Regions from separate parts of the Homo sapiens genome. Here all the other regions are linked to region 1. The links are contacts of gene promoters, found by promoter capture Hi-C in blood cells and fetal thymus (Javierre and others, 2016). All regions are on one chromosome and are shown on one strand. The core of a region is centred on a gene start or on the middle of the fragment in contact, and the rest is flanking DNA. Distances in the headings are between cores, read along the strand shown. Region 1 holds the start of CDK17 (cyclin dependent kinase 17). Region 2 has its middle 29 kb from the start of LINC02452. Region 3 has its middle 35 kb from the start of TRD-GTC2-8.

Region 1 (2,700 bases), core at 29-2,528:
ATTGACACGTACGATCGTTGGATATAACTGTAGATGCATTTAACTTTGCCAAACAAAATAAGAGAAAGATGTCAGCATGCAGCATTTTTAAGGGGGAAAGGATTCATCCCTAAATCCAAAAAGATAATTCCCCGAAGTTCTTAGCACATAATGTGATTTGAAACTTCAAAGCAGCTTCTACTTCCGGGTGTTAACATGGGAAAAAAAATTTATCTCACTTCACAGGACTTTTATGTGGGTTTTTTTTTCTTGTTTATGTTGTCTACATCCGGTCCCTACTCTCTTCTTTCAATCCTCTCATTATCTCCCTCTAGGGGTTTAAGTTTGTTTTAACTTTATGCTTTTATCCTTATTAGTGGAAAAAAGTGGGTCAGTATTACTTTAGTTTGTCTTCACTGCCACTCTGCTGTTCATTCCTGAACTAGCTTTTAGCCTCTGGGAAAGGAGAAAGTAAAAACAGTTGCAGAAACTGGGCCAACCTCTCGCGGCCCGCCTCCCCCAAGAAAACAAAACCTAACCCGTGCAACAGTAGTCCTTTCTGTTTTCATAGCACCTTGTATTTCTCCGCTCATAACGTTCAGATTTTTATGATAGTTATTGATCATCTTTCATCCCAGCTAGACTCTCCGTCCTTAGAGGACTCAGCATATTGCCGGGCACATGATAATATATACAAAACACTGTACTGTAGTTTAAATGAATAGATGCCGTGTGTGTGAGAGACTGCGGCACTAGTACCCACGTACCCACACACAACAAAGGAGAAAAGTTGCAGCCATCAACATCTTTCAGTGTGGGTCCTTTGACATGGACTCTCTAGAAAGTCAGTGGAGAACTGTGGCATGGACACCTTGTACAGTAATTACTTGTATAACTGAAGCACGAGTTTTGGTTTGGTAGCGGGAAGTTGAGGGGCAGGGGGATGTTGGAGGGGCTGAATTATTCACATAATTTCTCCCCCAGTCGCTGCGGACAGGCACTCATTCCGGTGGGGTCCCCTGGCCCCCTCCGCCGCTCCCCCGACGCCCGCATTTCGGAGCGGGCAGTTTCCCGGGGACACCCGCCCCGCCCTGCAGGCCCCGCCCCCGGCCGCCGGCCCCGCCCCCGCCTCCGCCGCCGCCGGCAGGGGTCGCGCTGCCCCCGGCGAGCCGCTCAGGCGGGGGTGGGGTAAGCTCCCGCGGCCGGTCGCTTTTCTCCGCCGCCGCTGGTTGGATCGTTTCAATAAAAGTGTTTTTTCTCTTGCACTCGCTCTCCTCCGGGGAACAGGCGGAGGCGTCAATCCGCAGCCGCCGAGTGTGAAAGCGACGCACACGCAAGGAGCGAACGCGGCCGCCCGCAGTCTCCTGAGCTCCCCGCGGGCCGCCGCAGAGCCGCGGAGAAGGAGCCAGCGCCCGGCCAGACAGTCTCAGCCCGCCGTCGGCGCCCGCCGCGCTCGCGCCCGGCTGCTCCGAGGGGATTAGTGGGCCGTCCGCGCGGCTCGTCGGCGCGGGAGCCATGTTGACCGAGGGACTTGGCAACGCGTGAGACACCCGCGGCCCCTCCCGAGGCTCCGGACCCGCGGCGAGAGCCGGAAGGCGGCTGTGGCGGCGGAGGCCTGCGCTCGGAAGCGCCTCACGTCTGCCGGCCGCTGAGACCCGGACTTGCATCCGGTCGCCGCGGGCGTCCGCGGAGCAGCTTCCCCCCGCGCCTCTCTTCGCCTCGCCTCGGGACCCGCGGTCCCCGCTCTTGCTGGTGAGTTGGCGGCTGGCGTCCGCGCCGCGCTTTCCCCTGGTGTCGGGTCGGCCGCGGGGCCGGGAGGCTGCGTGGGACAGAGGCGGGGGCGGGGGCTACTGGGGGCGCGGGTGGCTCAGGCCCGGTCGGGAAGTTGAGCGAGGAGGCGCGGCGCGGGGGGCTAGCGTGCGCCTGTCACCTCTCCGGTCCAGCGAGGACCTTGGGTCGCCCGGGGATTTCCGGGGCTCGGGTGGGGTGTGAGTGTCTGCGAGCTGCTTCCCAGGAGGCGCCGACAGATATAGACGCCGCCGCCTCCGGTGCTCGCTGCCGCTTTGGTCTGCGGGGGAGGCCGGTCTCCTCGCGAGGCGGAGGAGGGGAAAGAGGCAGAAAGTCCCCCGAGACACAAAGGTCCCCTCGGCGGGGGTGGAGCTGGAGGCGCAGGCGACGCTGCCCGGGAGGGGAAGGAAGGGGCGCGGGTCCGCGGGAGGTGGGCGAGGAGGCGGCGGTCGCGGCGCCTGCAGCTCCTTGGAGACGCTGGCGCTGTGCGCGGGTGGGGAGCGCGGAGGAGGAGGAGGAGCCCGCGCGTGGGAGCGGGTAGAGACAAAGATCAGGGCAGCCTCCTGCTGGCGGGTCACACCCCGGAGTGTTGGTCAAGAGCGGAGGTAGAGGGAAGGTGGGAAACCCAGCAAACCGATGGGGAGGGGAAAATGGGGGGAGGAGGGTGCCTAGTGCTGTCTCCGTCGCAGTTGCTTTTCTCAGCATTTTTGTGCCCGATGCTATGCCCGATGCTTTTGCTCCCCAACTCAGCTGGATAGCTCCAGATTCCCTCCCTCCTGTCACCCCCACACTGCCACATTGACTCTCCTGTGGTTTTTCCCTCGTTCTCCCCCTACTTTTCACCCACTCCTTTTCGGGTAAGCAGTATTTTGCTTTCAGCTTGGGGAACATTTGTTAATGACAGGATGTCTGAGCTTGTTCTGACCCTGAACT
Region 2 (2,781 bases), core at 236-2,735, 260 kb after region 1:
ACAAGGCTGGGCATGCAGTATACCTGCATACCCTGTGCAGCAATTTACACAGAAAGCTCTTCGGTGTCAATTTTCACCATTCAGAAGAGATCAATGATCCTGGGTGAAATTGCCAGTATGAGAGCAATTTTTCTAGTACCAAGAAATTTTAAGCCGGGTGTGGTGGCTCACATCTATAGCCACAGCTACTAGGCAGGGTGAGGTGGGAGAATCACTTGAGTATAGGAGTTCAAGGCTGCAGTGAGCTATGATTGCACCATTGCACTCAAGCTAGTCTCTGGAAAAAATTAAAAAAAGAAAGAAATTTTGCTGCTTAGGAATTTGTGGCTTTGCAGTATGCAATTTCTCCCTTTGCAACCAACTTTGCTTCCCCTTTCTTATTAGACATTTCAACTTTAATGAATTTACTTAGAAAATTACATTTTCAGAGCAACTGGAATTCCTCCTTCCAGGATGGAGTTCACCCTCCTTCCCTCCCACACTGGGAATTTTTCCTGAGACAGGTTTCCGCAAAAGTACTCTTGAGTCTTTTCGACGTGGCGACTGTTCACAAGGCACAATTGTTTGTCTTCAACTCGGAATTCATCTCCATTGAGTCAGGAACAAAATCAAGGCAACAGAGGCTTTAAAATTCAGACAGGAAGTTCTGCCCTTTTGACTTGGGAAACTGAAAGGAAGGTGAGGAGGAAGATGATAAAGAAAAATACCAGGGGGAGGTTGGATATGTGTGCCTCTTATACACATTCCACATTTTCCCAACATTTTTTTAAGGCAGAAGCAGTCTTCCTAAAGACTATTGATGAACAAACTCCAAGTGAGCCAGGAGACAGCCCACCACCACCATCCAGCAGGCTCCTTTGCATACATCCCTTTTGCACAGATATAACGAAGGCAAGCAGTTCCAAGAGAGAGGTGGGGGAAAGAAACCTTGAAAAGAGTTGTACCCTCCCAACAGAGATGTACTTTCAACACTCAAGTCTGCCCTTTCCCACTCTGGTCTCTCCCTCCCCATTTTCTTGCCTTTGTTCTTCCTTCCTGTTTGGTTACTCCTGCCTCTTGTCTGTCTCTGACTTGCTTTGACCTGTTCTCCCCTGCGGTCCTTGGTGCATCCTTCCTCTTTCTGCTCTGCCCTAGTTATCCCCCAATCAATTTCTCTTTATTTATTTATGTTACAGACGAAGTCTTGCTCTATCACCCAGGCTGTAGTCCGGTGGCATGATCATAGTGCACTGCAGCTTTGACTTCTGGGTTCAAGCGATCGTCCCATTTCAGTCACCATGCCCACCTAATTTTTCACTTTTTTTTTGTAGAGAGAAAGTCTCCCTATGTTGCCCAGGCTGGTCTCATACTTCTGGCCTCAAGCGATCCTCCCATTTTGGCTTCCCAAAGCACTGGAATTACAGGTGTGAGCCACCACACCCAGCCCAATTTCCTCTTTATTGAAACCACTTTTATCCCATTTCCTTAATTTCTACCATTTATTCTTAACAGGGTTTTGAGAAACAGCCCCTCCTCCCTGTGTGTAGTATCAGAGGCTGCTTTACAAATTGTACAGTAGGTCCAGGAGTTACACATCTCAGTGAATGCTCCACTGACAACTGGGACTAAACTAGGCTAAAACTAAATCCGTCAGCCTGTCCAGATTCCTCTTACTCCCGCTACGACTTCTTTGGTCCTCCTTTGCCTCATCTACTTGGTAGAGCCAGACTAGATCCCTCTCTCTTCTCCTTCCCCAAGGCCTATTGATTGATATTACTACAGTGTCTTTTTATTTTTTTAACTTGAATGTTTTTTGAAGTCAAAAGTCTCCCTATTTTGCCCAGGCTGGGCTTGAACGCACATCCTTCTGCCTCAGCCTCCCCAGTAGCTGGGACTACAGACGTGCACCACTGTGCCCGAACTGGAGTGTTTTGTTTTGTTTCTTTGTGTTTTTTTGAGATAGAGTCTCGCTCTGTTGCTCAGGCTGGAGTGCAGTGGCGTGATCTCAGCTCACTGCAACCTCTGCCTCCAGGCTTTAAGCAATTCTCCTGCCTCAGCCTCCTGAGTAGCTGGGATTACAGGTGCACACCACCACACACGGCTAATTTTTTTTATTTTTAGTAGGGATGGGGTTTCACCATGTTGGTCAGGCTGGTCTCGAACTCCTGAACCTGTAATCTGCCTACCTCAGCCTCCCAAAGTGCTGGGATTACAGGCGTGAGCCACTGTGACCGGCCTGCAGTGTTTTTTAAATGTTTTCCTTCCTCTCTCCTTCCATTGCCCTAGTTCAAGCCTTCATCATCCTCACCTGAACTGTTTATATACATTCTAATCCTGCTTTGGCACCTTCTGCTCCTCCCCTTTCCCATCAGATTTGGTTCTCTAAAACACAGATATGATCGCATCATTTCCCTTGCTTAAAAATCTTCAAGGTTCCTAGCTCCTAAGGGCAAGTCCACGTCCTACAACAAGACATTCAAGGCCTTTCACCACCTGGTTCAAATTTACTTTTCGAGCCCCATCTCCCATCATATGCTAGATCCTTGGCCACCATGCATTGAATAAAAAAAATGGTTTGGTTTGTCTTAATGTTTTGTCCCATGCTTGTAGTAGCTGGAGTTTATTGCCAGGGCCCCAAAATGAAAACACACTGGTTCTTGACCGGGTAAATGCAGAGGCATGGCTACCCTGAGTTGTCAATCTGGGTCCTACAAAGGATCCCAAATACTAACTGTGTGAGCTGTGGTCAGTCCTGTGGGTCACCTCACTTCTTCAGGCCTAGCTTTCCTCATTAATACCATG
Region 3 (2,762 bases), core at 259-2,758, 330 kb after region 1:
AAAACCCGACTCTACTAAAAATACAAAAATTAGCAGGACGTGGTAGTGTGTGCCTGTAATCCCAGCTACTCGGGAGGCTGAGGCAGGAGAATCTCTTGAACCAGAGAGTTGGAGGTTGCAGTGAGCCGAGATTGCGCCACTGCACTCCAGCCTGGCGACAGAGCAAGACTCTGTCAAAAAAAAAAAAAAAAAAAAACCCTCCACTTTTTTTTATTTTTAATTTTTATTTATTTAATTAATTTTTTTGTATCATTATTTTTTTTGTGATGGAGTCTTGCTCTGTCGCCAGGCTGGAGTGCAGTGGTGCGATCTCGGCTCATTTCAACCTCTAACTCCCTGGTTCAAGAGATTCTCCTGCCTCAGCCTCCCAAGTAGCTGGGATTACAGGCACACGCCACTACGTCAGGCTAATTTTTGTATTTTTAGTAGAGACAGGGTTTCACCATGTTAGTCAGGATGGTCTCAACCTCCTGACCTCGTGATCCGCCCGCCTCGGCCTCCCACAGTGCTGGGGTTACACACGTGAGCCACCGTGCCTGGCCTAAAAAAAAGTTTTTATTGTGTCCTCAGTGGGGATCAGAAAATATAGTTACTGTGTTTTTCCTTCTGCATTCTGTCTGAAATTATGTCTTATTTTTAAATTTATTATTGAATGCCGCATACTGTCATTTTGTTTCCTATCTTGGATCAGGTTGTAGGTACTGTGTGTGAGTGTGCATTTGTGTGTGTGTGTGTGTGTGTGTGAGCGAGAGAGAGAATGTTGAATTGAGGTCTTTCAAGGAAGGGTTAAAGAGCCATGTGCGAATGAGCTTCTGTTCCACGGCAGGCATTTAGAATCACGGTGCTTAGAAGACGTGGTATAATGATAGGCTGCTGGTGATGATATTGCTTCCCTGGGACGCTTCAGGAAGGGTGAGGAGACTAATTGGCTGGTCTGGCAAACAATTCAAGATGAGACCAAAAGGAGGAGCCATCTGCTGGCAGGAAGTAAATGGAAATTCACCTTAGCGCTGGCCCTTCCACAGTGGGTGCACAGATGGTGACAGGCGGAACCCTTAGGGAGAGAGCGAAGGCCCTCATCTGCCAAGAGAGGAACAAAGGGGATTTGCTATTGCCTCCAGTGAACAGCCTCTTCTTTCATTTTGAGATCATGTAAGGAGTTTGCCCACATCACAAACCTGTTAGTATGAGCTTGGTGGCCTTGGGGAGTTTCCAGGCAGTATTACTGTGTAGAACTAAGAGTGAGGCTTTAGAGGAAGCAATGGAGATGGAAGTAATTGGTTTAAGATCCTGGACATGGGCACCCTCTAATCTGGGATGACCTCATGTGGCTGTGCAGCACAGAACAGCAACGGGGCTCCATTGACATGCAAAAGGCATTTCCTCGACACTCCCCCTCCCAGCCCTGCTGCAGGTCCCAGTCTGCACAGTGCTTCAGGGCAGACCTCCTCCTGACTGCTTGTAAGTTGAACCTTCGATTCAACTTTATTCCACCTGCTCAATGTAGTCCTTCGAGTTTCCAAGCAGGAAGCATTGCAAGGGCGAGTAGCTGCTGCAATAAGCCCTCATTTCTGCAAAGGAGTGGTAGTGTATGTTTTCCCAATATACCCACCTCAGATATAGTAATTTCTAAACATATCAGTGGAAACAGAATAAAACCTCTTAGATGCAAATTATCTTGGTTGCAAGGGTAAGGAGTAGGGGGGAAACCAATATGAGTTAATAAAAGAACTGAACATACTTAAAATAACATGAAATTTTTTCCCTCTAATTCCATGAGAGGTTAGACATGTAATTTCTTTACACTTGAATACATTGAGAGAATCAGTTAGGATAGCACTTTTTAAAATTTTTAATTTTCTGTCTGAAAGCCATCACTGTAAGGACTATTACTGAAAATTTAAAGGCCAAATATTTAAACGATATGAAAAATATACCATCTTGCTTAACAAGAAGTCCTGAGACAGGACAGATGCAAAGTTCGTCAACTCAATGGCTTAACAAGGTTAAGAAAGATTTGGGCTGTTTACAACCTTCCTATTCCGTTCTCACTTAGCAGGGCAGTTTTGAACCACCAGGTACCTCCCCTCATGGTCACAAGATAGCAGCCATGGTTCCAGCCATCTCACACAAATCCTACAACATCCTTTAGATGAATATTCCCTCCGTGTGTGTGTGTGTGTGTGTGTGTGTATGTGTGTGTGTGATCACAGAGGAAAAAACCTTCCCCAGGAGTACCTCATATACATACAGCTTAAACTGCTAAAACAAAAAAACTAAAAAATACGATGGTTCAAAGAAGAAAGCAATTTATTTTCTTTTCATGTATCAGTCCCAATGTATGTAAGTCTTTCTGTCTTGCTCTGCCATTCTCTGGAGTCATGTGCTTGCTTGAAGCTGGATTAGCAGTACCACCCAGTGTGCAGAAAGGGATTAAGAGAGAAAGTAAAGAACAAGCATTCTCCTTCTTAAAAACATGGTCTAGAAATTAGACTCATTATTTTTTTCTCACATCCCATTAGCCAAAACTTGGCCACACCTTGCAACGATGGAGGCTGGGAATTATAGTCTGTAATTGGGCATGCGCCTAGCTAACACTGAATGTAACTTCTGCTGAAAAGAAAGGTAAAGTGAATGTAGGGAGAAATTAACATTCTCTGCCATACTCCTCTTGTCAATTTCTGCTCACGTCTCATTGGTCAGAATTACTTAACATCATGGGATCTAAACCACTAACAGCTAGGGAATGAGACCACCAGGAC

The links. Contacts are between HindIII fragments. The CHiCAGO score rates a contact against its expected background, and 5 or more counts as called.
Region 2: a contact is called between a fragment that was not itself captured here and the fragment with the promoter of CDK17 in region 1, in 1 of 17 cell types (activated CD4 T cells). The highest score is 5.2, in activated CD4 T cells.
Region 3: a fragment that was not itself captured here is called in contact with the fragment with the promoter of CDK17 in region 1 in 17 of 17 cell types (activated CD4 T cells, naive CD4 T cells, naive CD8 T cells and 14 more); the score reaches 27.1 in activated CD4 T cells.

The regions. Positions count from the first base shown.
Region 1 is chr12:96,399,017-96,401,716 of GRCh38, reverse strand. CDK17 (cyclin dependent kinase 17) reads left to right here and starts at 1,278. Exons shown (of 17, transcript NM_002595.5): 1 at 1,278-1,731. RefSeq lists an enhancer at 295-514 and silencers at 935-1,264, 1,355-1,534, 1,715-1,874. The HindIII fragment of the contact is 3,343 bases long and covers 1-2,700 here.
Region 2 is chr12:96,141,880-96,144,660 of GRCh38, reverse strand. No RefSeq gene overlaps it. Among named protein-coding and RNA genes, the nearest start is that of LINC02452, 29 kb to the left of the region's middle. The HindIII fragment of the contact is 6,494 bases long and covers 1-2,781 here.
Region 3 is chr12:96,069,369-96,072,130 of GRCh38, reverse strand. No RefSeq gene overlaps it. Among named protein-coding and RNA genes, the nearest start is that of TRD-GTC2-8, 35 kb to the right of the region's middle. RefSeq lists an enhancer at 374-874. The HindIII fragment of the contact is 5,233 bases long and covers 1-2,762 here.